Linked DNA regions of Homo sapiens: region 1 is linked to region 2. Evidence: promoter capture Hi-C in 16 types of primary human blood cells and fetal thymus (Javierre and others, 2016). All regions are on one chromosome and are shown on one strand. The core of a region is centred on a gene start or on the middle of the fragment in contact, and the rest is flanking DNA. Distances in the headings are between cores, read along the strand shown. Region 1 overlaps RPP25 (ribonuclease P/MRP subunit p25). Region 2 holds the start of SEMA7A (semaphorin 7A (JohnMiltonHagen blood group)).

What was found. The method cuts DNA at HindIII sites, captures the fragments that hold promoters and counts their contacts. A CHiCAGO score of 5 or more calls a contact.
Region 1: a contact is called between a fragment that was not itself captured here and the fragment with the promoter of SEMA7A in region 2, in 3 of 17 cell types (naive B cells, fetal thymus and naive CD8 T cells). The highest score is 6.5, in naive B cells.

What each region holds. Positions count from the first base shown.
Region 1 is chr15:74,952,841-74,955,645 of GRCh38, forward strand. RPP25 (ribonuclease P/MRP subunit p25) reads right to left here. Exons shown (of 1, transcript NM_017793.3): 1 at 1,578-2,805. Among named protein-coding and RNA genes, the nearest start is that of RPP25, 2.5 kb to the right of the region's middle. RefSeq lists enhancers at 1,748-2,681, 2,682-2,805. The HindIII fragment of the contact is 524 bases long and covers 1,270-1,793 here.
Region 2 is chr15:74,432,697-74,435,396 of GRCh38, forward strand. SEMA7A (semaphorin 7A (JohnMiltonHagen blood group)) reads right to left here and starts at 1,262. Exons shown (of 14, transcript NM_003612.5): 1 at 1,045-1,262. The coding sequence starts at 1,222. RefSeq lists silencers at 425-544, 695-844, 895-1,404. The HindIII fragment of the contact is 7,034 bases long and covers 1-2,700 here.

The DNA.
Region 1 (2,805 bases), core at 282-2,781, 520 kb after region 2:
AGACCAGCCTGGCCAACATGGTGAAACCCCATCTCTACTAATAATAAAAAAATTAGCCGGGCGTGGTAGTGCACACCTATAATCCCAGCTACTCCGGAGGCTGAGGCAGGAGAATCACTTGAACCTGGGAGGCAGAGGTTGCGGTGAGCTGAGATTGTGCCATTGCACTACAGCCGGGCGAAAAAATATATATATATATAAAATCGTGGTGGCTCACACCTCTAATCCCAGCACTTTGGGAAGCCAAGGCAGGTGGATCACAAGGTCAAGAGATTGAGACCATCCTGGCCAACATGGTGAAATGCCGTCTCTACTAAAAATACAAAAATTAGCTGGGCGTGGTGGCACATGCCTGTAATCCCAGCTACTTGGGAGGCTGAGGCAGAAGAATCGCTTAAACCCAGGAGGTGGAGGTTGCAGTGAGCTGAGATTGCACCACTGCACTCCAGCCTAGTGACAGAGCAAGACTCCTTCTCAAAATAATAATAATAATAATTAAAATAAAAAAAATAAAAAAGAGAGGCCGGGTGTGGTGGCTCATGCCTGTAATCCCAGCACTGTGGGAGGCCGAGGCGGGTGGATCACCTGAGATCAGGTGTTTGAGACCAGCCTGGCCAACATGGTGAGACCCCTTCTCTACTAAAAATACAAAAACTAGCCGAGTGTGGGGATACACGCCTGTAATCCCAGCTACTCAGGAGGCTGAGGCAGGAGAATCGCTTGAACCCAGGAGGCAGAGGTTGCAGTGAGCCGAGATCGCACCACAGCACTCCAGCCCGGGCGACAGAGAGATACTCCGTTTCAAAAAAAATAATAAAAAAAAATCCATTGCAGCCTTATCTCCGTGACAAGACTAGCAGACCCTGCTTTCTTTTTTTTTTTTTCGAGACGGAGTCTCACACTGTCGCCCAGGCTGGAGTGCAGTGATGCAATCTCGGCTCACTGCAACCTCCGCCTCCCAGGTTCAAGCGATTCTCCTGCCTCAGCCTCCTGAGTAGCTGGGATTACAGGCGCCCGCCACCATGCCTGACTAATTTTTGTATTTTTAGTGGAGACGGGGTTTCACCATGTTGGCCAGGCTGGTCTCAAGCTCCTGACCTCGTGATTTGCCCGCCTTGGCCCCCCAAAGTGCTGGGATTACAGGATTACAGGCATGAACCACCATGCCCGGCCTCAGGCCCTGCTTTCATAGTCCTGGTAACCCGGCTATCAGTCACTTGTTGTCTTGGAAAGTTGGACCCTTTTCAGAACCAAGACCAGTCTCCCTTAAGCTTCTACCATGCAGGACCTTGTCCAAGTTTTATCACTGCCTTTAGATGCTGAAGTCCAGGAGAAGCTAGGCCATCTTGTCAGGACAGTTTACATTCTTTCCATGCTTCTTGGGCCACCCCTGAGAGGGTCAGACAAGCAAACCCAAACCCCTTGGCCCTCTCCAGGGACTCATCAAGAGCAGGAATTTGGGGAGAGCAACGAGGGACAAAGTCTGGATGACAAAGCTCACTCCAAAGCTCAAGCAGAGATACTGCAGGGGAGGGAAACCTCCCTAAGAGCCCCTCCAGTCAGCCACAGAACGTATCTCTTGTCACCAGCAGGATTTATTTCAGGGTTCTGCCAGCAAAATGACTTATAAATACATTCTTCCGCATCTCCCCCTTTCCAGGGGTGCTGCTGAGTTGCATGGGATGAGATCTGCTTCTGAGATCCTGGGGCTGTATGCCACCCCCAACTCACCAGAGCTCTTCCAGCACACAGCAGCACCCCCACCCCCCAGCTGGCTTGGAGTTGGGCAGAGAAGCTTATGAGGCTGTTATCTCTCAACAGACAGCTGTGCAGGGCTGGAGGCAGCAGCTTATCAGGAGGCCTGCAGTGATTCACAGCCCAAGACCCAGCTTCTCTGCTGAATAGTAATTTCCAGCAGTGGATTTGTGCTCAGTCTCTCTCCTCCCCCTTTCCCAAGGGTGTGCTGTCCTTTCTCAGAGAGAGGGCAGTGAAGGGGAGATCCTACCCACAGAGCTGGGGGCTTTGTGCCAGCCTTCTGGGTAAGGTTCAGTTTATTGTCTGGAGGCTGCAGATTCAGGGACCTCAGCAGGGTCTGCCACCCTTTGCAGTGACCTCCAGGAGAGTTCATCGATGCTGTCCTTCCACTCCTTCCTTCCCCTCCCAGAAAAACAATGTGCCGCTCCCTTTCCCTTAGTGGCGATGTACAGGGGTACACGGGCCCCCATTTGCAACAGCCTCTGAGGCCAGGGCCAGCCCGGGAGGGCGGAGTGGGGGAGGAGAGAGGAAGAAGCCAGGGACTGGGCAGTGCCTTGCACCATTTTGAAGCTGTTCAGTCTCTGTGCCTGACCCTGAAGACTCCAAAGACTCAGGACGCAAGGCTGGAGGGGAGGGGAGACACAAGGGGCCAGGCGAGAGCTGTCTCTGCACAGGCGGGTGGTTAGAAAAAAAATGGGGGACACAGCCATTTTTGTGCTTGTTTTATTGGAAGCAAGACTCCAGCCAGCTGCAGGGCTCAGGGGAGGAGGCCTGGAGAGTTCAGTCCTGGGTCTCCCTCTGGGCCAGCAGGGGGAAAAGGGGTGTTAAAAGAGCTAGAACCCTCAGAGATGCTCCTCTGAAGCAGGGGAAAGAAAACTAGAAAGGAAAACTGTCCCAGGGCGGGGAGCGGAATAGGGCCCCCACATCTCAGACTCTCCTACCCTCAAGCAGTTAATTCTCACCCCCTGCCTTCCTCTGTCAACGGTGGGGGTGATTCCAATAACTCTTCTCAGCTTCCATACTTCAGGTGCTCTTCGTGAATGCTGGGTG
Region 2 (2,700 bases), core at 12-2,511:
GCCAGACCCGACCAGTTCCCCCAGCCCCCACTGCGAGTCCCCCACCATCACGACAGGGGGGCCGCAGACACGCCAAATTTGGGGACAGAGCCGAATCGGACTGGGGGCGGGGAGGCATTTGTGTGCAATGCAGGGGAGGGGAGATCAGTTCCTCGCGGCAGAAAGCCTCAAACCCCCGCCTAACCGGCTTTCTGTCCCATAGTACAGGGTCTAAACTGAGGTGCCCTGGGGGAGACTCCAGTCCCCCAGGTTCTTATTATCTACCCTGGCCTAAAGGCTGCACCCCCGCCCTAGATCCACCGCCTGGGGGTCCCAACGGCCGTGCCCCACCCAACGGGCACTGCCCCCCAACGCTGGAGCCGATTTCTGGTGACAACTGCCACGTGCGGGCAAGGGGGGAGCGGCCGGTCCCGGCATTGCTGAGGCAGCGCCCTGGTACCCCAAGCCGCCGCACCGCACCATGTCCCGCCGCTCGCTGCAGGATGCCCACCCCCTTGCCTGGCCCGAGCTCCGGGCCGGGGCGGGGGCGGGGGCAGGCGGCGGGGTCTTTGTTCCCGCTGCCGAAGCGCGGCGGCGGCGGCAAGGGGTCCGCGCCCCCCTTGCCGGCCCAGCCTGCGCCCCGCGCGCCAGCAGAGCCCGCAGCTCAAAAGGAGGGTACCCGGGTTGGGGTCCCAGGCGGGGAAAGGTCCTCCGCCGAAGCCCCCGAGCCAGAGGACCCAGAGTGGCTCGGGGCCGAGAGAGGGGCCCGCCCCCTCCCCTGGCGCCCGGGCGTTGCGGCTCCTGGCTGCCAGGGACTTGGTGCGACTTAGCCGGGGCTCCGGCCCCCGCCGCTCGCTCGCCGCAGCGTTACAGCCGGCTCTGGTGTGCCAGCGTGTACACTCACACACACTCACCCAAACCCACACGCTCCACGCGGGGACAGCGCGGGGACAGCCCGGGACCCGCAGAGCTGCGCGCACGCACTCCCTCCGGGTGCAGCACACTCCGCACCCGCCCCGCGCAGCGTCTGATCCCGCGCCTGACCGGCCGCGCGGCGCCGCCTACCTTTCCAGACGGCGAAGATGCGGGGTCCGCTCCTTAGGTGGCCCTGGGCGGAGGCGGCGGCCGCCCAGAGCAGCAGCAGCAGCCGCAGCCGCAGCGGAAGCCCCAACCGAGCCGGCGGGCCAGGGACGCGGGCGCGCGGTGCGCTGGGGGCGGCACGTCCGGGCGGAGGAGGCGTCATCCCGTGGCCCCGGGAGCGACAGCGGCAATCAGCCGAGACTGAGCCAGCGCCCGGCCGCAGGCAGACCCAAGCGCCAGGAGGCGGAGCCAGCGCTGACCCCACCCCGCCCCTCCCCCCGCCCCTCGCAGCCTTTTCTCGCCTCACTGGCTTTCCTGAGCGAGAGCGGAACTGCTGGGGGAACCTTCGCCACCCTCTCCCGGGCAACTCTACGGGGAAAGCCCAGCTGCGGACAAGCCAGACTTGTGGTCTTCTGCCAGGGGCGGCAGGCCCTATCCCCTCTCTGGGCCTCAGTTCCACTCCCCGCACCCCGTAAAAAGATTGGCGTAGAAGTCGTGGAGGACCTCTCTCCAAGGGCGCAGAGGAGTCCAACACCCAACAACCTTGCTATGGCCAGCTAAGTGGTTCGCACCCTGAGGACTATGGTCCTCGGAGGATGCGTTCGCCTAAGTGGACACGGCTCCCTGCTGAGCCTACCAGCAGGCACAACGATGATATGTGGGGAGCACTCAGGGACCCGCTGTTGCTTTGCCTGGGAGAACACTGGAAATTTTTCATCTTGGCCTGGCTCCTTCCCCTCCCTCTCCTTTCTCCTCCCTTTCCCAGCCAGCAGCCTTCTGGGCTGCCTCCCCCCAAGCCAGCTGGTGTACGCTCAGAAAATCCAAACTCATTTCCATGTGAGTGGAGGGGGATATAATTAGGAAGGCCCCTTCCCCAAGTAGAGAGGGGAGCATCCCCCGTGCCCCACTCACTGTGGGGGAGGGAGGGTCAAAGCAGCTTAAGGGGATCTCTGCCCGCAAAGTGCCTAGGGCTCAGCTATCTCAGGCAACCTGACCATTCAGTGGGGACTCCCTTGGGGGGTCCAGGCCCAGACCCTCTGCAGTTACCTGAGCAGTCCAGCCAGCTCTGCCATCAGCTCCTCCTCTCAGAACTACGTGCCTGCCCTTTGTAAAAGGGTCTCCTCTCTCTAGACCAGACAGGGCCCAGACCTACCACTTCCACTTGTGCCCCAGGGAACCATGAATGGAAAATCCACCCAGCTCAGTAAGTACTTATCTAGTGTTTACTGGATGTCTAGCTGCACTGAGAGGAGACAGGCCGAGGAAGGAGTAGAGGTGAACATCCAACCTTCAGAACTCACAGACCTAGACACGATTCACGCACTGCAGACACCAGCAAAGGCGGTGGGCTGGCTGCCCTCTGCCCTCTGCCCTGCTCCATGGGGCCAGGACCATTTGGTTGTTGTTTTTACCTCCTGGAACCAGGAAAGTTTTGCTACCAAGAAGTTTGGCTTTACCATTCTACATTTTGCTTCCAGTTGTCCCCTCCTTCTTCCCTCAGAGTCCTGAGGCACCCCAGCAGGCCAGGAAGGTAAACTCAAGGTACCTCCAGAGACAGTGCAGAGTGAGGTTCCTGGCCCACTGGGTGAAGCCAACAGCCTCCTGATACACAGGGGCACACTGCCCCAGAGAGGGAGGCTG